Linked DNA regions of Homo sapiens: regions 1, 3, 4, 5, 6 and 7 are each linked to region 2. The links are contacts of gene promoters, found by promoter capture Hi-C in blood cells and fetal thymus (Javierre and others, 2016). All regions are on one chromosome and are shown on one strand. The core of a region is centred on a gene start or on the middle of the fragment in contact, and the rest is flanking DNA. Distances in the headings are between cores, read along the strand shown. Region 1 has its middle 17 kb from the start of SACS. Region 2 holds the start of MIPEP (mitochondrial intermediate peptidase). Region 3 overlaps SACS (sacsin molecular chaperone). Region 4 has its middle 21 kb from the start of LINC00327. Region 5 holds the start of SACS-AS1 (SACS antisense RNA 1). Region 6 overlaps SPATA13 (spermatogenesis associated 13). Region 7 has its middle 3.3 kb from the start of LINC00327.

Evidence for each region. Contacts are between HindIII fragments. The CHiCAGO score rates a contact against its expected background, and 5 or more counts as called.
Region 1: a fragment that was not itself captured here is called in contact with the fragment with the promoter of MIPEP in region 2 in 9 of 17 cell types (M2 macrophages, erythroblasts, non-activated CD4 T cells and 6 more); the score reaches 8.5 in M2 macrophages.
Region 3: a contact is called between a fragment that was not itself captured here and the fragment with the promoter of MIPEP in region 2, in 5 of 17 cell types (fetal thymus, naive CD8 T cells, non-activated CD4 T cells and 2 more). The highest score is 9.7, in fetal thymus.
Region 4: a contact is called between a fragment that was not itself captured here and the fragment with the promoter of MIPEP in region 2, in 6 of 17 cell types (M2 macrophages, total B cells, erythroblasts and 3 more). The highest score is 7.7, in M2 macrophages.
Region 5: a fragment that was not itself captured here is called in contact with the fragment with the promoter of MIPEP in region 2 in 9 of 17 cell types (endothelial precursors, M1 macrophages, fetal thymus and 6 more); the score reaches 6.9 in endothelial precursors.
Region 6: a fragment that was not itself captured here is called in contact with the fragment with the promoter of MIPEP in region 2 in 2 of 17 cell types (fetal thymus and naive CD4 T cells); the score reaches 5.9 in fetal thymus.
Region 7: a contact is called between a fragment that was not itself captured here and the fragment with the promoter of MIPEP in region 2, in 16 of 17 cell types (total CD4 T cells, naive CD4 T cells, fetal thymus and 13 more). The highest score is 19.6, in total CD4 T cells.

What each region holds. Positions count from the first base shown.
Region 1 is chr13:23,448,675-23,452,506 of GRCh38, reverse strand. No RefSeq gene overlaps it. Among named protein-coding and RNA genes, the nearest start is that of SACS, 17 kb to the right of the region's middle. RefSeq lists an enhancer at 3,042-3,832. The HindIII fragment of the contact is 2,623 bases long and covers 968-3,590 here.
Region 2 is chr13:23,887,331-23,891,345 of GRCh38, reverse strand. It overlaps MIPEP (mitochondrial intermediate peptidase), which reads left to right and starts at 1,946. Exons shown (of 19, transcript NM_005932.4): 1 at 1,946-2,214. The coding sequence starts at 2,026. PCOTH (prostate and testis expressed opposite C1QTNF9B and MIPEP) reads right to left here and starts at 2,478. Exons shown (of 4, transcript NR_172510.1): 1 at 2,335-2,478; 2 at 1,304-1,346. C1QTNF9B (C1q and TNF related 9B) reads left to right here. Exons shown (of 5, transcript NM_001007537.3): 5 at 1-247. The coding sequence ends at 57. RefSeq lists enhancers at 1,547-1,606, 1,666-2,166. The HindIII fragment of the contact is 13,692 bases long and covers 1-2,724 here.
Region 3 is chr13:23,386,139-23,389,713 of GRCh38, reverse strand. All of the region lies in intron 2 of SACS (sacsin molecular chaperone), which reads left to right. Among named protein-coding and RNA genes, the nearest start is that of SACS-AS1, 31 kb to the left of the region's middle. The HindIII fragment of the contact is 2,903 bases long and covers 87-2,989 here.
Region 4 is chr13:23,488,879-23,492,728 of GRCh38, reverse strand. No RefSeq gene overlaps it. Among named protein-coding and RNA genes, the nearest start is that of LINC00327, 21 kb to the right of the region's middle. RefSeq lists an enhancer at 1-236. The HindIII fragment of the contact is 1,331 bases long and covers 882-2,212 here.
Region 5 is chr13:23,418,439-23,422,083 of GRCh38, reverse strand. All of the region lies in intron 1 of SACS (sacsin molecular chaperone), which reads left to right. It overlaps SACS-AS1 (SACS antisense RNA 1), which reads right to left and starts at 3,113. Exons shown (of 2, transcript NR_103450.1): 1 at 2,783-3,113. The HindIII fragment of the contact is 2,998 bases long and covers 1-2,794 here.
Region 6 is chr13:24,229,939-24,233,597 of GRCh38, reverse strand. All of the region lies in intron 2 of SPATA13 (spermatogenesis associated 13), which reads right to left. Among named protein-coding and RNA genes, the nearest start is that of SPATA13-AS1, 23 kb to the left of the region's middle. The HindIII fragment of the contact is 5,136 bases long and covers 1-3,659 here.
Region 7 is chr13:23,464,181-23,468,340 of GRCh38, reverse strand. No RefSeq gene overlaps it. Among named protein-coding and RNA genes, the nearest start is that of LINC00327, 3.3 kb to the left of the region's middle. RefSeq lists an enhancer at 1,499-1,658 and a silencer at 1,769-2,048. The HindIII fragment of the contact is 5,622 bases long and covers 1-4,088 here.

The DNA.
Region 1 (3,832 bases), core at 1,030-3,529, 440 kb after region 2:
TGTACTGGGTGTGGTGGCTCACACCTGTAATCCCAGCATTTTCAGAGGCCAAGGTGGGTGGACCATTTGAGGTCAGGAGTTCAAGACCAGCCTGGCCAACACAGTGAAACCCTATCTCTACTAAAAAATACAAAAATTAGCTGGGTGTGGTGGCACACGACTGTAGTCCCAGTTACTTGGGAGGCTGAGGCAGGAAAATCACTTGAACCCAGAAGGTGGAGGTTGCAGTGAGCCCAGATGGCACCACTGCCCTCCAGCCTGGGCCACAGAGCAAGACCCTGTCTCCACTAAAAAAAAAAAAAAAAAAAAGGCCTGGTGTGGTGGCTTATTCCTGTAATCCTAGCACTTTGGGAAGCCGAGGTGCGTGGATCACCTGAGGTCAAGAGTTCGAGACCTGGCCAACATGGCAAAACCCCATCTCTACTAAAAATAACAAAAATTAGCTGGGCGTGTTGGCAGGCGCCTGTAATCCCAGCGACTCAGAAGGCTGAGGCAGGAGAATTGCTTGAACCCAGGAGGTGGAGGTTGCAGTGAGCAGAGATCACGCTGTTGCATTCCACCCTGGGCAGTAAGAGTGAAACTCTGTCTGAAAAAAAAAAAAAAAAAAAGAATGTCTTGCTTGCATTTAAAGATAATGCTACTGTCAGCTGGCTATGCACTTTCCAACAAATCAACATTGGTCAGGTGTGAGTGCACAGCAAGGAGGAGATGGGTGCATGGGCGAGGCTCAGGACCTCTGGGAGAAATCGATGGTCTTGGTCATGGTCAACCAGTGACAGACTCTTGGGAGGGAGGAGTGTGCAAATCAGAAAGAAGGAAAATGAGTATTCTAAGGAGGACAGAACTGGCAAAATAGGGAGTCAGGGAGGCTGTCAGGTGACAGATGAGAAGGGCCTAGGCCAGTGCAGTGCAGAGAGGGCTTATTCTAGACCCTGGAGGGGAGCCACGTGGGGCTGTTCTGCAAGCTTCATAGGCATGAAACTGCTTTATCCTCATCCCAGACCGGGAGGTGGGAACCATCAATACATCCCCATTTCACCTGCACCCAGAATTTAATTTATGAAGGGGACTGAGTGATCCATACGAGAGGCCAATGCCATTGAAAGGGGTTTCATGACTGACAGTTGCCAAGCTGTGCAGGGCCACCCGGGAAGTGCTAGGGTTCAGCAGGAGGGAAGAAGAAAACATGCCCAGAGCCCTTGAAGTTTTTGTGGGAAGGAATAGGTGAGGCAGGGGAGGCAAGTTGGAGCACATTTGGGATTGCATGCTTTGAATGATTTCTGGGTGCTTGGGGCTGTGGGGGAGGTCTCTAGGTGTCTGGGGCCTGGTCCTGGGGTGATTTAGGATAGAAGAAATACTGGCTTGGTGTGTGCAAATGTGATAAAGGAGGTGGTTGGAGACATGGACTTTGGATTAATTGGTTTGCATATGAAAGGCATGCACAGGGGCAAGTTGTTAGCTTTCTCTAGGAATTAGCCATGGGAGGGGCGGTCTCTCCCTGGCCAGCAAGGCCCCCAACGTGTCAAAGCATTATAAAATACAGAAAATAACAAAAAACACGATTAATACACTCCCCTTGACAGATGAGAGAATCCTGACACAGAGAGTGTAGTTAATTTGCACAAGGTCACCCAGCTAAGGGATGAAGCTGGGCATTCAATCAAGGAATTGTCTCTCTGCTTAATCACTGTGACAGCTGCCTCCAGATTAATGTTAATCTTTCTAAAAGTGATAAAGTGTAATAGTTCAGTTATTATGGCAAACAATTCTTTACAAACAAGTAAGGCTTATTTAATGGTATAAAAGAGAATAGGAGGCAGTTTTCCATAGTTCACATGAAGTCATAATCCGCTCTTGCAAAACTTGAATAAGTACAATTCTCTTTCGTGATCAAAGGAAAAATGCTGTCATCATGCACCAGAATGCCTTCCAGAATTTGAGAGGGCACGTTTGCCTCCAGATGTCATTTCTGATTAATGAGGAGCAGGTGGCATGACAGGCGAGGCTGACACTCATCTCTCATGGGTGGTTTCAATTTACGCTGCCCTGAAGCAGAGAGATGGTCTTTGATGACCTTGAAAAGTTCACTTGGGGCATAACATAATTTTTTCCAGTTTTATAGATCCACAGTTTCCTCCTTGTTTAAGCAAAGTGAGCCAGCAAGTTAATTGTTCAAAGTAACTTCTGCATTTTTCAAGTTTGATGGACTAGCATAGTGCTACAAATATAGCTATAACTTGCTTAACTCATTGTTTAAAATCTTTCCGTAAGTGGAAATACATATTTAAATGAAAACGGTGAATTTTCAAACAATAGTGTTTTTATGAAAAAAAATCAAATGTATCAGTTTTCATGAATAAAAAACCAAATATTTCAAATATTTATTTGCTCTTATGTGAGGAAAAGACAAAAATTCCTCAATAAACCATTTGCTTAATGCATGTTGTGGTGTATTAATAATTAAGTACAATTAAGCATACGTTTCCCATACAGCTTTCCTGTGCAAGGCACTGTGCTGGCCACTACCTTAAAACTCCTTCTTTTAGAAACTTGCTTATAGGTGTCCATTACCACATTTAATTCATATAGCAGTCCGCTGAGGGAGGCAGGACAGACATTGCAGCAGGTATTGCTTTTGTCTGACCGGCCACATTTCTTATTCTTAATAGAAAAACTATGAAAATTGGCTTTCCCCCAGTGAAATCTCAGTGTTCCTCTTACAGAAGTGTAGGTCCAGGGGCCAGCAGTGGTTGGCTTTAGTTTGACTGTTCAAACGACACAATTTGGCCATTTGGTGATGCCATTTCCTCTCCGGCTCTCCCCATCTTTCTTCCCAACCTTCTTTTGTGTGTTTGCTCTTGCCTCCATGCTAATTGCTGCCAACTTGCAACCTTTTGTTTAAATTTTACACAGAAAACTCTGGTAGAGTGATTCAGTTTGCCCCCTTCCCCCTGGGGAACAACTCTTTGTTTTTAGACTTGCAAAACAAGTACATTGTTGTCCATGGACCTCAGTTGTCAGTTACACAAAGCCATCCTTCCTGGGAGAAGAGGAAAGGGATGCAAAAGAATCTTTTCATTCTTTAGTTGAAAAACTGACTGCAGTGAGTGGGCAGATGAAGAGAATCTGAGGATTCTTTCTTTTTTCTTTTTTTTTTTTTTTTGAGATGGAGTCTCGCTCTGTCGCCCAGGCTGGAGTGCAATGGCACGATCTCAGCTCACTGTAACCTCCACCGGATTCAAGCAATTCTCCCGCCTCAGCCTCCTGAGTAGCTGGGATTACAGGCACCCACCACTGCGCCTGGCTAATTTTTGTATTTTTAGTAGAGATGGGGTTTTGCCATGTTGGCCAGGATGGTCTCAATCTCCTGACCTCAAGCGATCCACTCGCCTCGGCCTCCCAAAGTGCTGGGATTACAGGCATGAGCCACTGCACCCGGCCTTAGAGGATTATTTCTACATTCCCTTGTTAATCCACAGCTTTGCAGGGTTTTTCTGGATGTACTCTCTCTCCTCATAACCAAGTCCGTATTGGATTCTAAGTCTTGTGCTCCTATGGGGACACTGAGTTACAAGGTTATGGTCAAAGCTTTTGGCAGGAACAGTAACTTCTGAGTAGGACAGAACTTGGCCGGACGCGGTGGCTCACACCTGTAATCCCAGCACTTTGGGAGGCCAAGGTGGGCAGACCACGAGGTCAGGAGATCGAGACCATCCTGGCTAACAGGGTGAAACCTTGTCTCTACTAAAAATACAAAAAAAAAAAAAAAATAGCCAGGTGTGGTGGAGGGCGCCTGTAGTCCCAGCTACTCGGGAGGCTGAGGCAGGAGAAT
Region 2 (4,015 bases), core at 697-3,196:
GCTGATGAGGACGATGACACAACTTTCACAGGGTTCCTTCTGTTCAGCAGCCAGTGACAGAGGAGAGTTTATAAATCTGCCAGACCATCCATCAGAATCAGCTTGGGATGAACTTATTCAGATGGTTTTACTTTATTAATTCCTCCAATTATTACAATAATCATAAAAAGGTGAAAACGGAAAAGTTATTCCCAAAACTGATTCTATGTAACTTACTATTTTTCCAGGAGTAAATATTTAAAATAGCTGCATGGTTTATTCTAATTTATTTCACATTTCTTATTCCTATTATCTGAAGAATCCTTTGTCTGTGCATTTCTTGTGGGAAGAGTGTTTTGATATCATTTTAGTGCTCTGAGGAGTCATATGAAGATGTATCCCTCATCTGTGTTTCTGAGGACATTAAGGGGAAATTAGAGGGAAATGTTTATTCCATTTAGTACTAGTAACAGCTTTAAGCTGGTGATGCTGTCACACTCCAGAAAGCTGTAGACACTGCTCATTTTGTCTTTTTTTAAAAAATGTATTTTTAAGTTCTGGAATACATATGCAGAACGTGCAGGTTTGTTACATAAAAATGTGCTGTGGTGGTTTGCTGCATCTGTCAACCCATCACCTATGCAGGTATTAAGCCCTGCATGCATTAGCTATTTGTCCTGGTGCTTTCCCTCCCATTTTGCTCATTTTCTAACCTAGGTTTTAATCACCATTCTATCCAACAAATCATTGTTTGATCATTATTTGCCAGACATGAATCTCTACTTGTTTTCTAGGATCGCCCTAATAAAGTACACAAACTGGGAGTCTTTAAACAACAGAAACGGACTTTCTCACAGTTCTGTAGGCTGGAAGTTTGAGATCACCGTAGCAGCAGGGCCATCCTCCCTCCAAAGGGGATACAGGAGGATGCAGCCTTGCTGCTTCCAGCTTCTGGCAGCTGGTGGCAGCATCACTCCAGTCCCCGCCTCCATCTTCAGGTGGCTGTCCTCCTCCTGTATCAGCCAAATTTTCCTCTTCTTACAAGAACAGCTTCCCTAATCTAGTATGACCCATCTTAATCATAATTGCAAACTCCATATTTTCAAATAAGGTCACATGTACAGGCACCGAGGGTTAGGACTTCAGCATCTATTTTGGGAGACACAGTTCAACCCAATCTGCCCTCTGGTTCCCAAAATTGATTTCCTTCTCATGTGCAAAATACATTTTCGCACCATGTCAACATTACCAAAAGTCTTAACACTTTCCGCATCAACTCCTCTCACCATCTACATCATTTAAATAAGCTACAGAGGAGACTTACTGTGTGATTCATCGTGTGGCAAAATGTCTCTCCATCTGTGATCCTGTGAAGCGAGACGAGTTAATCCACTTCTAAAAGACCGGGGGTTGGAGGGGGAGACAGGCATAGGGTAGACAATCCATTCCAAAAGAGAGAAAGGGGAAGGAAAAAAGGGTTCACGGGTCCCAGGCAATTCTGAAACCCTGGAGGGAAAATCCCATTAGACTTCTTTCACTATTTCCCATCTAAAATTTTTAACTGAGCTATGCAAGAGTAAAAAGTTACCGGACAGAGACACCAAACAGAGAAGTGCAGGATAAATTTACCAAGAGAGTAGGTTAAAAGGGAAACTTCTCCTTCAGGCCTATGGTGGGCATTTCTTGTTTACTCAAGTACCTGCCGTCTCTCAAAGAATATCTAATGTCCACTGGAATTCGAATATGTCATGATTTTACTCGCGCCCACCCCTAGTCAACTTGGGAGGGAAGCGCAACCCTAGCCTTTTCTTACTCTGGACACAGGGGGCGGTAAACCGGGAGGGCGGCCGAGAAGGCGAGGGGGAGCGACGCTCTTGCTCTCTGGACGACAACGTGCCCACGTCCTGAGGCCGCGCCCAGACCCGGAAGCGGGGCCGTCACGTGGGGCGGCGTGGGCTGCTGCCTTGGAAACGCGGAGCGCGCGCTCCCAGCGAAAGCAGCAGGGCAGGGATCTGCGTTGGAGGAAGGGACTGCTCTGGTGCTAGAATGCTGTGCGTCGGAAGGCTGGGCGGCTTGGGAGCCAGAGCAGCAGCTCTGCCGCCCCGCCGGGCGGGCCGGGGAAGCCTCGAAGCCGGGATCCGGGCCCGAAGGGTCAGCACCAGCTGGTCTCCCGTGGGCGCCGCCTTCAATGTCAAGCCCCAGGGCAGCCGCTTGGACCTGTTCGGCGAGCGCCGGGTGAGCGGCGCAGGAGGAGCTCCCCTCAGTCCCCGAGCTAAGCCGACCCCTGCTCCGCGCGGCCAGCAACAATCAGGGCGAGATTGTTTGGGCCTGGGAGGAGGCGAGCAGCGAACCCACCTTTTACAGTGGCGTCTTGTGTGCGCTCTCGATGAGGGCAAGGTCACCTCTGCTTTGAGGGGCCGGGTTTAGTGGTCTCCTACCCAGAGTGTCGGGTCCGGGAACTGCTTCTGCATGAGCCCCTTGCTCCACGTGAATCTGAATAGTTCGTTCTGGCAGTGGCGGTGAATTCGTCCTGCCAGGACCCGCCCTCTGCATACACTCAGGCGCACCCCTGCTAAAGCCCTTTAGCTCCAGCGCTACAGTCCTGCCTTAAGAGGCCTATCCCTGTGCGTTCACAGGCGGCATCACATGGTCTTTTTGCAAGGACACGGCTGCCTGCAGTCGAGTAATGGTAATTTCATTAATACCTGAAATTCCATCATCTATTAATTAATTTATTTCAAAGCTTTGGGCTTTCTTGTTTTAAAACACAAAACTCTGTTGAGACGAGTCTCACTTCCCATAGTGCCATGGAATTGGTCACTTTGATTTCTTACCCCAGGAAGTCACTAGCCTGCGTTGTCTAGTGAAAGGTGAGAGGAAGGCAAGGTTGGAAAGGACTTACCTGATGCCTGTTCTACTTGGAGTTTGTACATTTTGTCCGTTTTAGGTTAAGGATTACTTTTATTTTTGCCTTTTAAAATTTCGTTATACTGTATTGCCTTATAAAGACAAGTCTAGGGTATTGTTGCACTGAGCTAAAGTGTGTGATTCTTGTTTTATCTCCATTATCAGTTTTGTCTATTTAAAAATTATTTTGTGTGAAATTTGCTACACCACCTTCCTTAAGGGTATGTAGTGTTGGTATTAACATAGTTGGTGTGAAGAGACCTACTTGTAGGCGCTGAGCAGAAAGACGTGAGGGGAAGCCTGATTTTGGGTGGATGAGATATAACTAATTTTAGCTTTTATTTTTCCCTTTTTGTATCATGATATTCGGCACTGATAGCAGATTTTCAAATTTTAGAATTGATTTTTGCCTTGAAAAAAAAAAAGCCTTATTCAGTTTTTTAGCATTATGGTCACTGGTAATCCGATAGTTAGAATTCCCGAGAGCAATATGGGCAGGTTGTACTGGGAAGTGGAAGTAGTCTGTGCTTGAATCAAATTAAATCAGTATAAAGATGACATTTGTTTTTGGTCCTGATTTTCCTTTGTCTCCCACTGACTTTCTTTTATTTTATTTTTTATCTTGTAATATATTTTGAAGAGAGATTACTAGCTTAACTTCATCCATCCCTTCTTGTAGAAACAGTAGGGCTTGTCAGGCCTGAAGGTTTACCTGTTCGTATTTCTGAAAATCTATGCGTTAAGCACCTACAAAGTGAATTAACAAAGCCTAGCATCTGCTCCGGTCACTTGTTTCTTTCATTGAGTTCCCCCATGTGTTAGACATTCTATTGGATAGCTGGTTAAAGAAATGAAGGGCAGGGCTCTTGGGTCTGGAAGCTCACCTTTTCAGGAGAGAAGACTTTCAAACAGATAAATTGTAATAGAGAAGTATGGAAAAGTGTGGGCTTTACAGATGTACAGAGCGGGTTCGAGTTCTGTCTTTCCCAATATTAATTTGTGACCTCAAACAAGTTTTTTCTAACGTCTTAAAGCATGTGGCCTGATCTGTAAAAGAATGATACTCTGTTCTGTAGGATTGTGTGATTTAAATGAGAACCTATGTAAAGTAGCAGGCACACTTCATGGT
Region 3 (3,575 bases), core at 289-2,788, 500 kb after region 2:
GGAAGCAAATGTGTCCTTCAAAGAGAATCATGTACTACGTATCCCTTGTACACGTATTCCGTCCTTTTTTTAAATTAGAGAAAGCTTAGCTCAGACTTTCAGCTGAGACACAGAATAAGATCTTTCTAAATTCGGAGGTTGAAGTTTGGCAAGTAGAGCACATGTACTTTGCAGATACCATATTAAGTAAAATTAGTAACGTGGATGTAAAGACGACTTTCTAAGTGTTTGCCTTTTCCAGTGACCCTGGTCAGTGGGCAGAAATAAATCATCTTTATATCCACATGTTACTAATATATATATATTTTTTTACAATTCTGAATTTTATTTTGTAGTCATGCTGATTAGTAGACATTCAGTTCCTAGTTATAAAACCAACTCTAAAATTGCATTAATAAGTATTGGGCAACTTAATAAAGCTGTAACCTTTCACATCATTTCAGGAGCACAGTAACTATTTAAAGCCTTCCTGTAACTTAAAGACACAGGCTATATATATACACAGGCTATATACACACACACACATACACACATATATATATACACACACATATATGTTTTAGCTAAATGGTAGAGGGTACTAAGGAGTAATTAACAGATGGGTGTGTCTTTGGTAATTGACACATACAAGTTTCCATTTAAAATCTTATTAATAAATATATAAAGAATGTAAGACATTCAGCTCCATGCCTTGTCCATAGAAAACTCATGTTATGTATTTTTTGAATACATGGATTAAAATTTGGTATTTGCAAATGATACTTTCTTTTGGTTTCTGATTCTTTGGTATTTTATCACCCTGAAATACTATATTAAATTTATTTATTTATTTTTAATAGTTTTAGGGATACAAGTGGTTTTTGGTTACTTGGATAAACTGTGTAGTGGTGAAGTCTGAAATTTTAGTGCACTCATCACCTGAGTAGCGCACGTTATACCCAATATGTAGTTTTTTATCCCTCAACCCCCTCCCACCCTCCCTGCTTCTGAGTCTCCAGTGTCCACTGTACCACTCTGTATGCTTTTGTGTACCCATGGCTTAGCTCCTACTTATAAGTGAGAACATGCTATATTTGGTTTTCCACTCCTGAGTTACTTCGCTTTGAATTAATGACCTCCAGTTCCATCCAAATTTGCTGCAAAAGACATTATTTTATTTGTTTGTTTTTTTAATGGCTGAGTAGTAGCCTGTGGTATGTGTGTGTATATATATATATATATATATACACACACACCATATTTTTATATTTTATATATATTTTATATTATATGTACCATATATATATATATACACACACACCATTTTTTAAATCCACTCATTGGTTGATGGGGACTTCGATTGGTTCCATATCTTTTGTTTTTTCTTTTTTTTTTTTTTTTGAGACAAAGTCTCGCTCTGTCACCCACGCTGGAGTGCAGTGGCGCAATCTCGGCTCACTGCAAACTCCGCCTGCCCGGTTCACGACATTCTCCTGCCTCAGCCTCCCAAAGTGCTGGGATTACAGGTGTGAGCCACCGCTCCCGGCCCATATCTTTGCAATTGTGAATTGTGCTGTGATAAACATATGTGTGCAGGTGTCTTTTTGATATAATGACGTCTCTTCTTTTGGGTGGATACCCCGTAGCAGGATTGCTGGATTGAATGGCAGATCTACTTTTAGTTCTTTAAAGAATCTCCATACTGTTTTCCGTAGAGGTTGTACTAATTTACATTCCCATCAGCAGTGTGTAAGTGTTCCTTTTCACCGCATACATGCCAACATCTATTGTTTTTTGACATTTTAATAATGGCCTTTCTGGCTGGGGTACAGTGGTGTCTCATTGTGGTTTTAATATGCATTTCTCTGATGATTACACACATTATTACTTAATAGTACCTCACCGCCATATTCTCTGGATCCATAGATCATGTTGTAATAAAAAAGTTTAAGGGACAGATTAAGTTGCAAGTTCCTGCTAAGGAACTGAATTCTCTGCACCATGCTGTCCATTGGGTAAACTCCTGATATCACAGAAGCTGCATCACCTGAACTCAAACCACCACCCTACACAGGTGAATGGCAACTTCCCAGATAAATGGTTTAAAAACCAGCCGTCTATGAGGACCAAAAAGAAACGGTCAGGGTGACCAGGGGACCAGCTTATCTCTACAGGGTCTTCCAGCTTCGTAGTGAAAGTGAAGCCCTTAGAATGGCAAGTCCAGGAATACCTTATTTCATTCACAGACTTTTTTTTTTTTTTTTTTTTTTTCTGAGACGGAGTCTTGCTCTGTCGCCCAGGCTGGAGTGCAGTGGCACGATCTCTGCTCACTGCAAGCTCCGCCTCCCGGGTTCACGCCATTCTCCTGCTTCAGCCTCCTGAGTAGCTGGGACTACAGTTGCCCGCCGCCATGCCCGGCTAATTTTTTTTGTGTTTTTTAGTAGAGACTGGGTTTCACTGTGTTAGCCAGGATGGTCTTGATCTCCTGACCTCGTGATCTGCCTTCCTCGGCCTCCCAAAGTGCTGGGATTACAGGCGTGAGCCACCGCGCCCGGCCGACATTCGTTTTTAACAAATCGAAGGTTTGCAGCAGTCCTGCATCCAGCAAGTCTGTTGGCACCATTTTCCCAACAGCAAGTGCTCCGTTAGCGTGTCTCTGTGTCGCATTTTGGAAATTCTCATAATATTTTAAACATTTTCATTGTTATTATATCTGCTTTGGTGATCTGTGATTACTAATCTATGGTGTCACTATTGTAATTGTTTTGGGGTGCCACGAACTGTGCCCAAATAAGACAGTAAACTTAATCGATAAACGGTATGTTCTCTCACTGCTCTACCAACAGGCTGTTCTTGCCTCTCTCCCTCTCCTCCAGCCTCTCTTTTCCCTAAGACACAACAGTATTGAAATTAGGCCAACTAGTAACCCTATAATGGCCTCTAACTCTTCAAGTGAAAGGAAGAGTTGCAAGTCTCTCACCTGAAATCAAAAGCTAGAAATGACTAAGCTTAGTGAGGAAGGCAGGTTGAAAGCCAAGACAGGAAAGCCAGGCCTCTTGTGACAAACAGTCAAGTTGTGAATGCAAAGGAAGTGTTTTTGAAGGAAATTAAATAGTGCTATTCCAGTGAATACAGAAACTATAAGAAAGCAAAACAGCCTTATTACTGATTAGGAATCAATTTGAGTGGTCTGGATAGAAGATCAAACCAGCCATAACATCCCCTTAAGCCAAAGCCTAACCCAAACAAAGGTCTAACTCTCTCCAAATCTGTGAAAGCTGAGAAAGGTGAGGAAGCTGCAGAAGAATTTGAAGCTACCAGAGGTTGGTTCATGAGGTTTAAGGAATAAAGCCATCTTTATAACATAAAAGTGCAAGGTGAAGCAGCATGTGCTGATGGGGAAACTTCAGCAAGTTCTCCAGAAGATGTAGCTAACATAACTGATGAAGGTGACTACACTAAGCAACAGATTTTCAATGTAGATGAAACAGTCTTCTGGTGGAAGAAGATGCCATCTAGGACTTTCATAGCTATAGAGGAAAAATAAATGCCTAGCTTCAAAGGACAAGTTGACTCTTGTTAGGGGCTAATGCAGC
Region 4 (3,850 bases), core at 298-2,797, 400 kb after region 2:
CCAAGCAAACAATAATTATTAGGCAATCATATCATAATCAAATACCATTCTTTAATTCTGATGGTTTCTTCATGAAAAGTTTCTGATATTTCATCTGAACTGCATTAAAATGGTCTTTTTCTAAGAATACAAGCATTTTTAAAAGTAGTTTCAAAAGTATAATTCCCATTTTAATGTAACACGCTCAGTTTTAGAAAGTTTATAGCTGTATGCTCCACATTTTATTTATTTATCTATTTTGAAAGAGGGTCTCACTCTGTCACCCAGGTTGGAATGCAGTGGCGCAATCTTAGCTCACTACAGCCTCCACCTCTTGAGCTCAAGCAATCCTCCCACCTCAGCCTCCTCCCACCTCAGCCTCCTGAGTAGCTATGACTACAGACGTGTACCACGATGCATGGCTAATTTTTTTAAGATTTTTTTTTAATAGAGATGGGGGTCTTGCTATGTTGCCCAGGCTGATCCCAGACTCCTGGCCTCAAACAATTTTCCCACCTTGGCCACATAAAGTGCTGGGATTACAGGCCGGAGTTGTCGTACCCAGCCACGTTCCACATTTTAGTTCTAAGGAAATGGAGGTACTGGAGCTGGAGTTTCGCTTCAACTCTATTACCAGCTCTTGGAAGTAGCTATTTCACGGGCACCTGGCAGTCAGTGTGAGCACAGAGGCTGCCTCCTGCCACTGGAGTATTGAAGTTCCTGCCATCTCTTTCAAGTTTGCTTTTATGTGTCTTCATGTAATAGCTTTGTTGTTAGTGTGCTTTAATAAGGAGGATGGATACTACTAATAGTCAATAGGTAGAATGCATGCTTCATCCTAGGCCCTTTTCTCACACTCTCTTGCATTTATCTCACTTAATCCCCACACAGACTTAAAAGCTTGGTGCTGTCATTATCCCCATATCACAGATGAGGAAACTTGCCCACAGTCCTGGGCTTAGTGACCGTGGAAGCTGGGATCAAACTTAGGTTGGCCCCATGGAACTTACCAACTTACTGACAGATTGCTGTTTTGATCCTTATGGCACCTCAAAAAACAGCCGGGAACAGCACAAGTTGTATCTGCCATGGTGAACAGAGGAAAGAGATTCTCCATCCCTCATACCTAATTCCACCGCAATCTCTCCTTTTATGTAGGAGAGATTGCTCCATTTATGTAAACCTTGCCATCAATGTTTACTTTATAAATCGGGCTTTCATTCTTTTGTTAAAAAAAAAAAAGTCCATACATCATTTCTCCTTTATTATGGGGTACATAACCCTAAAAGGATGAGATTTAAAAATCACCATCAAGTTTCATTAAATAAAAACATTTAGTGAGCAACCAGACTGCCCAAGAGGCTTGCAAGGATTTACATGCATTCCTTCACCAGTGACTTGATCCACTTGGAAGAGTTATTTTTATATCTACGTTACTGTTACTGCCATCTCTATTTCACATCCGCTGGAGAATACAGCTTTCCCAAAAGCCTGGGTTACAAGGTCAGAGAAATGGAACAAGTTCAAAATGTACAGCCTTAGAGACTATGTGAACACATATACCAAGACTTCATTTTTTTTTTTTGAGACGGAGTCTCGCTCTGTCGCCCAGGCTGGAGTGCAGTGGCGCAAGTTCAACTCACTGCAAGATCCACCTCCCAGGTTCACGCCATTCTCTTGCCTCAGCCTCCCGAGTAGCTGGGACTACAGGTGCCTGCCACCATGCCCGGCTAATTTTTTGTATTTTTAGTAGAGACTGGGTTTCACCATGTTAGCCAGGAGGGTCTCAATCTCCTGACCTCATGATCCACCCGCCTCGGCCTCCCAAAGTGCTGGGATTACGGGCATGAGCCGCTGCGCCCAGCCCCACCAAGCCCTCATTTTTGAAGTGAAATAAAGGAAAAGGCTTAAATAGCGTGAAAGCGAATGAAGTCATAATAAAACAGCTAATCTCTATTGAGAGCTTTCTCATAACCAAGGCTTTCCTAAGAGCTTTCCATGAATTAACTCATTTACTGTGTATAACAACCTTACTATTGACAGTCTGCCTTCAGATCCCAGCTTTGTGACCCAAGGCTTTGTGACTTGGAGCCACTTCACTTCTCTTGGCCTCAGTGCCTTCAATTATAAAATAGGAAAAATAATCATACCCGTTTCTTACCATATTTTATGTGTGCTCTCATTTAAGCTCATGGTAGTCCTGTGAGGTGCAGAGATGGAAGAGATGAAAGCTTGAAGGCTTGAGTTTCTGATAAAAGTTTAAAGGCCTGGAGTAACACCCCACAGCTAGGAAGTGGTGAGTCTAGTACCCCACCCTCACTGCACTTGAACCAGAGCGTGCACACTCCCAGCCACTAAGCATTCGCCTGAGTGGAGGCTGAAATGATCTGCTGTCTGCAGTAAGGCCACAGGAAATGCTCTTGGAACCTGGTCTCCATGAGATATCTATCAGGAACTTTTCACAACACCAGAAATGAAGGAAATTCTCATTTTTATTTTGATATATTATAAGCAAATATGTACGTTTTGGCACAATGAGAAATGTTTAGGAATTTTGACTAAAAAATTCTTTCTGGCAAGATTCTTTAGCCACTGAAATTTTAAGTGGTACTTACGGTTGTATGTATCTGACTCGCATCTGGGTGGCTACAACCAATTACCAACTACTGACAGCAAAAGAAAGACTTGCAAATATGATTTCACATCTGCATTTTTTATTTTATATTTAGCTCTTTGTCTTATCATGTTTGTCTAACTGTAGCTCTCTCTCTCTCACTGACAGGGTAATGTCTTTAAAATCTCACTACACAAAGTACTGGCTTTGTGAAAAGGCTCTGACCTATTTTGCCCTGCCTGGATTGGTTTTAACATCATGTAGATAGTAAGTAACAAACTCATTAAACCATTTCCATTCTTGTCTTAGGGGACAACGTGGTGCCCTCCCCTTTTACATGTTGCTTCTCTTATCAGCTTCACTGGCTTTGTCTACTAACCCCATGCCTGGGGAATTATAAGGAAGGGATTCGGGCACCGTGTTGTCTGCGGCATGAATCTTGCCAGGCTGTGGCTGTCACCAAGGTTATTGGACACTCCTCCCTGAGCAGGACCCACCTGGGAGGCATGCAGATGACAAGTGCCACTCAACCTTTTCCTCAGTGCCTGCTGGGCCCCGTGTGCATGTTCAGGTAATGAGAGGAACCTCGGAGCAAGTGGAGTAAGTGAGTGTGGTCACTCCAACAACAGACCAACCCATGAGAGGTCTGATTTCACGTTAAAATGGGAAATATTTGGTTGAATGGAATTGACGGAAAGGCAGGAATAGCCTTTCTCATTCCCTCATGGATAGAAAAAATGCACAAACCACGTTATCTGTTGGGTTGCATGGAATCGCTCTGACTGTTTTATTACCACCATTCACGTAGCATTTTATGTGAAAGGGAATGCTGGGCGCAGTGGCTTACGCCTGTAATCTCAGCACTTTGGGAGGCCGAGGTGGGTGGATCACCTGAGGTCAGGAGTTCAAGACTAGTCTGGCCAACATGTGGAAACCCTGTCCCTACCAAAAATAATAATAATAATAATAATAATAATAATAATAGTAATAAATTAGCCAGGCGTGGTGGCGGGAGCCTGTAATCCCAGCTACTGGGAGGCTGAGGCAGGAGAATTGCTTGAACTTGGGAGGTGGAGGTTGCTGTGAGCTGAGATTGCGCCACTGCACTCCAGCCTGGGCAACAGGGCACCACTCCGTCTCAAATAAATAAATAAATAAATAAGAAAAAAAGAAAGGGAATGCAGGTGTGAAAGCTTCCGATTCGTCACCTAGCAAAATTACACTGAAAAGTCCCCAAGCTCTTTGAACCAACTGCAA
Region 5 (3,645 bases), core at 46-2,545, 470 kb after region 2:
GGCCTAATAACCTCTCAAACGTTGTTACTTAGATACTTAGATAATACACCATAGGTGGACGCCCAGGCCGTAGGTAAATACTAGGCCCCAGGTGGAAACCAGGCCCCAGATGGATATCAGGCATCTCGGTGCATGTCTGTTCCCAAGTTGACACATGGGCCCCCGTTGAACACCAGGCCCCACTTAAACTTCAGGCCTCAAGTGGATGTCCAGGCCCCAGGTAAATACCAGGGCCACAGTGGACAGGAAGCCCCAGGTAGACTACAGGCCCCAGGTGGATGCCTAGGCCCCTGGTGAACACCACGCTCCAGGTAGATACCCTGACCCCAGGGCAACATCCAGTTCCCAGTGGACATCAGGCCGCAGGTGGATGCCCAGTTCCCATGTGGACATCAGTCCCCAGGTCAACATCAGGCCCCAGGTGGACACTGGACTTAAGATGTATATCAGGCACCAGGCTCACATCCGTGCCACAGCAGGACACAATGTCACAGGTGGACAGCCATCCCACAGAGGATACCGAGGACTCAGACGGACGTTCAGGCTCAAGGGGAACATAAGACACTATGTAGGCAACAGGCCTGGGTGCATATCAGACCCCAGGTAAATACTCAGGTTCCAGGAGTACAATAGGCTTGAGGTGGATACCCAGGTCCCTGGTAGATACCCAGTCCCCAGCTGAATGTCAATCCTCATGGGACGGCACACTCCACAGGGAAACTAGGTGCCAAGTAAATGCCTAAACCCCTGGTGAATATCAAGCCCCAGGGGTATACCTAGACCAGAGCTGGACATCTGGCCCCAGCTGGACATCCAGGACCCAGGTGGATATCTACACCTCAGGTTGACATCAGGCCCCTGGAGAACACCAGGTTTCAAATGACCACCAGGCCTCAGGTGGCTATGGAAGCCACAGGTGGATATCAGGTACCACGCTCACACCCAGGGCCCAGGCGGACACAAGGCCCCAGAGGAACAACAGGCCCAAGGTGGACAAAGGCCCTAGGTGCACACCAGGTCCTAGGTGGATACCCACACTTTAGGTGGACACCAGGCCCCAGGCAGACACCAGGTGCCAGGAGGATACCCAGGACTCTGGTGGACATTAGGCTCCTGGTGGACACCAACACCCAAGTGGATGTCAGGCCCCAAGTGGGCACTGAGGCCCCAGGTAAATACCCAGGTCCCTGGTCAAAAACAGGTCCCTGATGGACAATCCGGCCCCAGGTGGACATGAGGCCTCAAGTGGACACTTGACTCCAAATGTCTTGGGTGGACACCACTCCCCAGGTGGATACCTGGGCTCCTGATGAACATCAGGCCTCAGGTTCAATCTAGGTCCCATGTGAACATCCAGGCCCAGGAAGTCCTCAGGCACCGGGAAACACTCAAGCCCCAGGTGGACATCCAGTTCCCGACTGACACCAAGGCCTCAGGTGGACACTAGGCACTAGGAGAACTTCAGGGCCCAGCTGAAATCAAGCCCTGGGTGAATACCCAGGCCCTAGCTAAATACCAGGCCCCAGATTTACATTGGGCCACAGGTGGACATTAGGCCCAAGGTACACACTGGATTCTAGGTAGACTTTAGTCCCCAGATTTACATTGGGCCACAGGTGGACATTAGGCCCAAGGTAGACACTGGATTCTAGGTAGACTTTAGTGCCCAGATTTACATTGGGCCACCGGTGGACATTAGGCCCAAGGTAGACACTGGATTCTAGGTAGACTTTAGTCCCCAGGTTCACAGTCACACCTCAGGAAAATACCAGGCCAGGCCCCAGTTGACTGTCAGACCCCATCTAGACACCAGTCCCCACATAGATAATCTATGCCCCATCTGGACATCAGGTTCCAGGTAAACACCAAGTCCAAGATGAAGAGCAGGCCCCAGTTGGGTATCTAATCCATAGGTGGACATGGGGCACCAGATTGACACACAGGCCCAACGTGGATACCCACACCACAGGTGGACATGAGGCCCCAGGTACATACCCAGTCCCCCGGTGACTATCGGGCCCTAGGTGAACACCAGGTCCCAGATGAACATCAGGACCCAAATGGATACCTAGGTCCCTGGGGAACATCAGGCTCCAGGTGGACACCAAGGACCCATGTGGGCAGCTAGGCCCAGAGTGACATCAGGTTCCATGGGGACACCCAGTCTCCAGGTGGATACTGCGTCCCTAGGGGTACACACCAGTCCTCAGTGACCGAATGGTCACATATTCTCTGGCCAAATGCAATAAAATCACCTCCCCAAAGAATATATATTCTTTAAAACTGAAAACTACATTTCTCAATCATTCTGAAGATAAGGAACTCGCAACAGAATGCTGAACACACACAGAAACGATGAAACTCCCACAACCAACACGAGTGCAATGCTGCTCAACTAGTCCGAGAGCAAGACCCACCACAGGCTTTGCATAGAAGACGCACAGATTCGAATGGAAGAAAATGTGGGACCCGAAATTGCAATATAAGAAAAGAGAAAAAGGCAACCACGCACACCAAGAAATCCAAGAAGTAAAGGGTGACATGGAGACATAACACGCCCGGTTTCCCAAGAAACATTAGGAACCACATTGCGAAATGAAATGGCAGGCCCCATCAAGCCCTGTTGAGACTCTGAACTGCAGGCCTCTCCTAGACGGCCTCTAGGCCTACAAATTGCTAAGGCCACCCTTAACACGTCCTACCCACCTTGTAGAAATTCCCCACCACTAGGAAAAGACACTAAAACCCATGTTGGTCCCGAGCTTACCCTGCCAGAGCTTACCTTGCCGAAGCTTCCCGCAGTCCCTGGGTGCCACTAGCTGGCTCTGTGGCTTCCTTGGAGGGCCTGTGGCCTAGGCCCGGTCCCCTCTCTCAGCTCCCGTGCCTGTCCGCCCATGACCCCAGAGGGACGGGCCCCTGGTTCCCTGGCGGAGCTGCCCTGTCGGCTCACACAGGCGCCGGACGGCCGCGCTCTTGCTCCCAGGCACCAGCCCACTCCCACGGGCAGTCGATTGTGGCACTCTCTGGGGCCCCAAGTCCTGCACCTGCCCCAGATCTTCATGCCCTGAGCAGAGAAGCGAGAACATCTTACTCAGCACCAACTGGGCCAAAATGGCGCCTTCCGCACCACGTGTGCAAGAGGGCAAGTTTCCCGTGGTGGGGGAGGGGGCACAGAAACTCCCCACCTACTCTCCTAGGAAGAGGGCGGCGCCCATGGAGACAAACCCATGGGCACCTTGATAGTCACAAATGCAATGCTAGATCAAAAAATGATATTCTGGTCAGGCACCCTGGCTCAGGTCTCTAACCTCAGCACTTTGGGAGGCTGAGGCAGGGGGATCACTTGAGGTCAGGAGTTTGAGACCACCCTGGCCAACATGGTGAATCCCCTCTCTACTAAAAATACAAAAATTAGCTGGGCTTGGTGGCAGGTGCCTGTAAGCCCAACTACTCAGACAGCTGAGGCAGGCAAATCACTAGAACCCAGGAGGCGGAAGTTGCAGTGAGCAGAGATCAGCCACTGCCCTCCAGCTGGAGAGACAGAGCAAGACTCCATGTAAGGTAAAAAAAAGAAATGGGTGCTATACTGAAGCACTCAAATGTGGAAACATCAGATGAGAATTTATATACAAGGGAAACAAACAT
Region 6 (3,659 bases), core at 716-3,215, 340 kb before region 2:
AAAGTAAAAAGCTACTTTCACATTTAGACTCATGATGTGAATTTCTATGATTTAGTATTTCTGGAATAGATCCTTTTTCACATTTTTCTCCAGCAAAAGGAAAAGAAACAAAAACAAGCTAAAAACATTCTAGGAGAAACTGAACATAAACTAGCACAAAGATGACTCATAGAAGGCACATTAATTCTCTTCAGATCACATTAAAAAGCCCTCTGTAAGAGAAGATATCTGTTGCATGTCTACCCCAAGCATACTATTTAGGAAATATCATAAAACACTAACTGTCATATCAGGGCAAATGTCCCTGCAACAACATGTTCAATTCATTAGAAAAACATTTTTTGAAAGCACACATAATATTATATTTAAAAATTATCTTTCTAACTCTAATTTTTGTGATTCAAATTCTGTAATGTTTTTGTCAGAAAAAAAATGAATGAGAACCCAGAGGAATATGGAAACTTACATTCTCTGCAGTACAAAAACCATAGGCGGCTGAATAAATGGAGGCTGGATAAACAGATGTTCATATATTAAAAAATGAACCTTCATATTACACACAAAAACAACTAAACATGGGGCATATACCTAAATGTAAGAGCTAAAATGATAAAACTTCCAGAAAATAACACAGAAGAAAATCTTTGTAATCTTAGAGTTCTCAGATCTACAGAAAACTACAAAAATTTGGTAACTGTATTTTCATCAAAACTAAGAATTTTGACTCTTTAAAAAATATTATAAAACTGGGCTGAGAGTGGTGGCTCATGCCTGTAATCTCAGCACTCCGGGAGGCCGAGGCAGGCAGACCACTTGAGCTCAGGAGCTCGAGACCAGCCTGGGGAGCATGGCAAAACCCCACCTCTACAAAAAATACAAAAAGTAACCAGGTGTGGTGCTGTGTGTCTGTAGTCCCAGCTACTGGGTGGGGGTGGTGCTGAGGCAGGAGGATTGCTTGACCTTGGGAGGTTGAGGCTGCAGTAAGCTGTGATTGCACCATTGTACTCCAGCCTGGGCAAGAGAGTGAGACCCTGTCTCAAAAAAGAAAAATATTAAAAAATTTAAAAGACAAGCCAGACTGTGAGAAAATATTTGTAATTCCTATTAATTTGATGTGTCAACTTGATTGGGTGAAAGAATCCCCAGAAGGCTGATAAAGCATTATTTCTGGGTGCGTTTGTGAGGGTGTTTCCAGAAAAGACTGGCATTGGAATCAGTAATCAGTAAAGTAAAGAAGACTTGCCCTCAAGGATGTGGGCAGGCATCTGCAATCCCTTGAGGTGTCAAATAGGACAAAAGTCCAGGATTCCCCTCCTCTCCTGGCAGACATCCACCTTCTCCTGCCCAGGAACACTGAAGCTCCTGGTTCTTGGGCCTTCGGACTCCATGACTTACACCAGCACTCCACCCCATCACCTTGTCCTCAGGCTTCCAGGCTCACGCTGAACTACACATCTGGCTTCCTGGTTCTCCAGGCTGCAGATGGCAGATCTTGGTACTTGGCCTTAATCACACCAGCCGATTTTCATATGTATCCTATTGGTTCTCGTCCTCTGGAGAACCCTGAATAATCATATTATCTGATAAAGGACAGGTGGCCAGGAAATATAAAGAAACCTTAACTGCTCAATAAAAGGATGACAAAGAATGCAATGAAATGATGAGCAAAAGATCTGAATCGGCACTTCACTAAATCAGATCACTTGAATGGCTAATAACCACATGAAACGACGTTCAACATCATTAGTCATTAGGGAAATACTAATTAAAGCCAAAATGAAATACCACTCTACACCCGCTGGAATAGCTAGAGTCCAGAATACTGACAATACCAAGTCCTGGCAAGGATGAGGAGAAATTGGAACCCTTATACAATGCTGGTGAGAATCTAAAATGGTACAGCCATTTTGGAAAGCAGCTTGGCAGCTCCTCGAATAATTAAACATAGAAATGTCACAAGACCTAGCAATTCCACCCCTAGGTATCCACCCAAGAGAAAGGAAGCATATTTCCACCCAAGGACTTGTATGTAAGTATTCATAGCAGCATTACTCATAATAGCAAAAAGGCAGAAACAACCCATCTCCATCAACAGATGAACAGATAACAAAGTGCGGTATAGATAGCCATGCACTGAAATATTACGCAGCCTTAACAAGGAAGGAAGCACTGATCATGCTCTATGGACAAACCTTGAAAACAAGGTTTTGCTCAGTGAAAGAAGCCAGTCACAAAAGACCACGTATTACAGGATTCCATTTCTATGAAATGTCCAGAAAAGTAAAATAATAGACACAAAAAATAGCTCTGAGGCTGGGGCTAGGAACAGAAAGTGACTGCAAATGGCGCGAGGCTTCTTTCTGGGGTGGTGAAAACGTGCTAAAATTAGTCTGTGGTGATGGCTGCAGAGCTCCATAAACATATAAAAATCACTGAATTGTTCGCTTAATAAAAGGTGTAGACACAAAGCCCATCAGCTGTGGCCTAGTCTTGGGTGGGAACAGGGATTGGTAAAAGGCGTGGGGAAGCCTTCTGGGGGGAGCCAAGTGTTCTTTAGCTGGACGGTGGTAGTGGCTGCACACACTACATTTCCCAAAAATCATCAAACTGCATACCTACAACCGGTGAGTTGATGTTATGCAAATTAGACCTCTCTACAGAGCTGGTCTGATCAACCCCAGCCACGGAATGTCCCTCTGAGTCCCTGCCCTGACAATGTCACTGACTTTCCACCACTTACAGAGTAAAGTCCAAATTCACAGCTGTAAGCGAGGCCCTTCCTAATGATGTCCAGACCTAACTGCTTAACCTGATCTCCCTCCTCTCCACCCAGCCACCCTGTACAGAAGTTCTGCAAGCCGTCTGCAGCTCCCTGAGCACAATAGATGCATCACTTTGCTAGAAACTTATATACAAAGCCCCATGTTAAGTCCACACATCACCTCAGCTAATCTGCACAACGATCCTATGTGGTCGGGACACTTATCACCCACAGTTTACAGGCAAGGAAAATGAGGTTTAGCAAAGGTCGAGAACTGGTAAGCAGCAGAGCTGAGCTCAGATGTGGGCATCTGCCTCCTGTTCTACACTCTTCCCGCCAGCCTGGAAGTCCAGTGCCCTTCTGCAACCGCCGCCCGGGGCACTAAAGACCCCACTCCACTGTCCCTCCCCAATTCTGCCACTTTCCAGCCAGAGTTCTTCATTCTGCCGCCTTTGGGGCTCCTGCGGCACTTACTGCATTCTCATGAGGAGCCCTTACCACTACATCATAATGACCTGCACACATTCCTCTCACCAGCTAGGCTCTGAACCCATGAGAGTACAGACAGCTTCTTTTTGTTTCAACCCCTTCTGTTCACATAGCAGGTGTTGAGTGGTGAGGTACATGACAATTCCTTATGCACTGTTTGACTTCTGCTTAATGATTCCATCTTAACTTGGATTATTCCTCTATATCAAACCAAATTACATTACTTCCTGTTCTCTCCAATCACAGAATATCTCTGCACACATGCCCAACCTACTCTACACCTCACTGAAATGCCCCTGTCCTCTCCATAACCATCTGTAGAAATCCTCCTTCTTCAAATCAGATTCAGTCACCCTTATGAAGCCTTCCTTGATTTGGTACATGGGTGAGAACTGCAAGTCCTCTGAAA
Region 7 (4,160 bases), core at 28-2,527, 420 kb after region 2:
TAGAAGAAACAGATTGTTTCTTTAAACAGATGAAAATCAAATATCTTCCTTCTTCATGAAGTTAACCACGGTTAGATCATCCACATTGATACAGATGCCTGATAAAAGATCAGGATTGCGTTTGACAACCAGGTTTCTCTTACACATTCTCAGCAGCTTTCAGTCTCTGAAGTTTTTAGTCTTCTTTATTTACTACATTAATCTTGAGAGTAAACAAGGTTCTTATCAAAAATTAATATTTTAATATTAAAAGAATTTATTAGAAAATAATTTATTTAATCTTTTAATATTTAAAAGATATTAAATAAGTTTACAAAGACAACAGCAACTAAGAATGACCATGACTGAATAGAGCAAAACTGTACTAAAATACAACAAATAAAATAAAGGAATATATCCGTGAAATGTTAAGAAAGGCACTGGCCCAAATAATCAGTACTGAGACTCCATCTTGGGTTTGCTTTAAAGCCTCTAGCATGAAGCTGATGGCTGCCCAGTCATCTCAAGGGGCAGCACTGTCCCTTAGGAGCTTACAGTTGAAGCCGACTAGGCAACCCCTAGCCTTGGGCAGAGCTGAAACTCAGCACTTACACACAGGACTGATGTTATAACTCGGAACACAGACTCCTCAGTTTCCTTTGATGCTTTTTTTCTGAGGGCCACTCACATCCGTCTTCTGTCTTCTTTCATGATCCTATCTTAACAATCATGTAAACTCAATCCTTTATCAGACACTCAACAGAAGCAGACTTTGTCAATTACTGGTGGAGAGAGTGTCCTAAAGAAGCTATCCATGAAAACAAGGGTGACCCGGCAGGCTTCACGAAGCCTTCACGAAGCCAGAGGGCAGGGGACATCCACCCTCACTCAGGACACCCTTGGGGCACTCTGTGCATCACCCCGCACAGCTGCTACTAATTAAGCCCTTCTGGGCACCATGTGTTTCCGTGACCTGCTCTTCCTGTGTCTTGTACTCATAATTTTTTCCCATCACATCACATGATCCTGCAGTTTCGGGACAATGCTGACTTCCTCTGCCATCCTCCGCAGCACACAGTGGGGCTCCTGCCACCCCGGGCCTTCTTGTGTCCTAGCTGAGCTGTGGACGGCCCTGCTCTCCCACCGGATCCTCCTGGGTCATGGAAGGATTCTTTGGAGACATGATCAGCTTCCTTACCCACCACCTGTGTGCCTTGGGCAACTGGAGTTCTCAAGCTCCAAGGCCTTCGTTTTCTCAGCTGCAAAATGAAGAGACTGGAACAGCCTCCTGTTTTGAAGAATCCCACCTGAGTTTATATCAGAACAATCTGAGATAGATATATAGATATAGATATATATCTTTTTACATTTTTTAAATGTTCTTTCCCCCAAAACCATGTCCTTTAAGTGGAGGAATCTATTTTTTAAAAATGATGTGGTTGTGCCCTCCAGTGGTTGAGCGTGAAGTCATCAGGCTGTTCGGGTGACAGCAGGGCTCGCAGGAAAGCGCAGGCCGTGCTAAACCGCCGAAGGACGAAGGTGGGTCTAAAGATAGATGAATCTGCTACTCCGGAAAGCACCGAATCGCCGTGTAGACCGGTCACCAAGTATAACTGCGAGCCCCAAGGCGTCACCAGCATGGGCATCCCAGCCTCGGTGCTTCAAGTCCTACTTCTGCTTGGCTATCGGGAAAGGCACGGCTTCGGGGCCACTTCTAGGCTCTCAACACGCGGCCGCTGCTGGGAATCCTGGCGGCCGCGGCTCTTCGCTCTCCAGTGGACCCAGTACTCCGAGAAGCCGCAGAGGCCTGGCCGCTGCAGCCTGCTCCCGACACCCGCTGGTCCGCCCCTCCCGCTCGGCTGCAGGGCTGGGGCGCCCACAGGCGGCAGCCGTCAGCCCGCGCCCGGAGGAAGCCCACGGCCGCCCCGGCTCCCCGCCCGCAGACGCAGCTGCGCAGCCTAGCGGGCTGGGTAGCGGGACAGCAGCGCACGCTGCCCGCTTCCGCTCGCTCCCCCGCGGGCCCTGCTCGATCGTCAGGGTTGCTGCAGGCGGAACTGGAGGAATAAACGCAAAGCCCCAGCCCCTCGTGAATTTCAGGGCCCCTCTCACGTGCAGGGTGTTCCCGCTTATTTCCAGACTCCTTGGATGCAAAACAATGAGTGAAGAACTGACAGTGAAGGCGGAGGGACTTACCTAAGTTATGCAATGATAAATAAATGGCAGATGAAAAATGGGACCTTTGGTTTCTAGTCAAAGTCCTTAGGAAGCGATTCGGCAGACGCAGGCCCAGGTGGCGAGGAGAATGGCCCCTTAGCCAGCTTTTAGGGTTCCGTGAGGGCTGAGCTAGGAGGGAGAGAAAAGGTTAAAGACCCTTCCGGTCCTTAGCATCACCACGAATGAACGTTTACCGAGCACTTACTTTATAAAGAGCACTGTGATAGATGCTGGGGAATATTCAGAGGAATAAATAGGACAATCTCATTTTCCAGGTCTACATTCACTGGAAGGGTCCCCTCCTGCAGGAACTCATTACTGGTCAACCACTGTGCCCTGTATGAAATCTACATGCTGTAGATTTCAGACATGTTTTCTGCCTCCGAGAGATTTATATGCTAGCAAACAAAAAAAGACATATATATAAGGAGATAAATAATAGCCAAGATATTTTTTGAAAAGTATTTGGGGTAAAAATACACATAAAAACATTTACCATCTTAATCATTTGTATGTGTCCTCTTCAGCAGTGTTAAGAACATCCACACCATTGTGCAGCCACACTCCAGAACACTTTTCATCTTGTAAAACTGAAACTCCACAGTCATTAAACAACATTTTCCCATTCCCCTTCCCCTAGCTCCTGAAAAACCACCATTCTACAGATGCTCCTTGACTTATGATGGGGTTAGGTCCAGATAAACCCACAGAAAGTTGACAATGCATTCCATGCCCCTAACCTACTGAACATCACAGCTTAGCCCAGCCTACCTTAAACGTGCTCAGAACACTCACAGTAGCCTACAGTTGGGCAAAATCACCTAACATAAGGCTTATTTTCCAATAAAGTACAAAATATCCCACGTAATGTATTAAATACTGTACTAAAAGTGAGAAGCTCTAATAGTAAGTGCTCAGTAAATGCTCAGAATGGTTCTATGGTGTATTAGTGTGTTCTCACACTGCTGATACAGACATATGGGAGATTGGGTAATTTATAAAGGAAAGAGGTTTAATTGACTCACAGTTCCACATGGCTGAGGAGGCCTCACAATCATGGCAGAAGGCAAAGGAGGAGCAAAGTCACATCTTACATGGCGGCAGGCAGGCAAGGCAGGCAGGCAAGACAGAGCTTGTGCAGGCAAACTCCCATTTATAAAACCATCAGATATCATGAGACTTATTCACTATCATGAGAACAGTATGGTGGAAACTGCCCCCATGACTCAGTTATCTCCACCCTTGACATGTGGGGATTATTACAATTCAAGGTGAGAATTCAAACCATATCATATGGGTACTCAAAGTACAGTTGCTACTGAATGCATACTGATTTTTCACCACTGTAAAGTAAAAAAACCATAAGTCAAGCCATCTTACGTTAAAAATGGTTTGTACTTTGTCTCTATGAATTAGACTATTTTAGGTACCTCATATAAGTGGGATCCTACAGTATTCGTCCTTTTCTGTCTGGCTCATTTAACTTACCATCTTCAAGTTTCACTCATGTTGTAGCACGTGTCAGAAGTTCCTTTCTTTTTAAGGCAGAATAATATTCCATTGTCTGTTTATAGCGCATTTGTGTATCCATTCATCCATCGATGGACACTCGGGCTGCCTCCACCTTTTGGCTGTTGTGAATAATGCTGCAGTGAACATGAGTGTGAAAGCAAACATTTTCAATATTAGTTGGAGTGTCTGCTTTCATTTCTTCTGGGTATACATCCAGAAGACTCTATGGTAATTCTATGTTTATTTTTTTGAGGAACCACCACACTGTTTTCCCTAGTGGCTGTACACTTTTGCATTCCTACCAACAGTACACAAGGGATCCCAAGACATCATTTTCAACCTTAAAAAAAAAAAAAAAGCGGTTTCAGGTTCACAGAAAAGCTTCACAAAGAGTACAAAGAACACCCATATTCCCCAGTTGTTAGTATTTTACCACATTTGCTTCATCAGCTTTT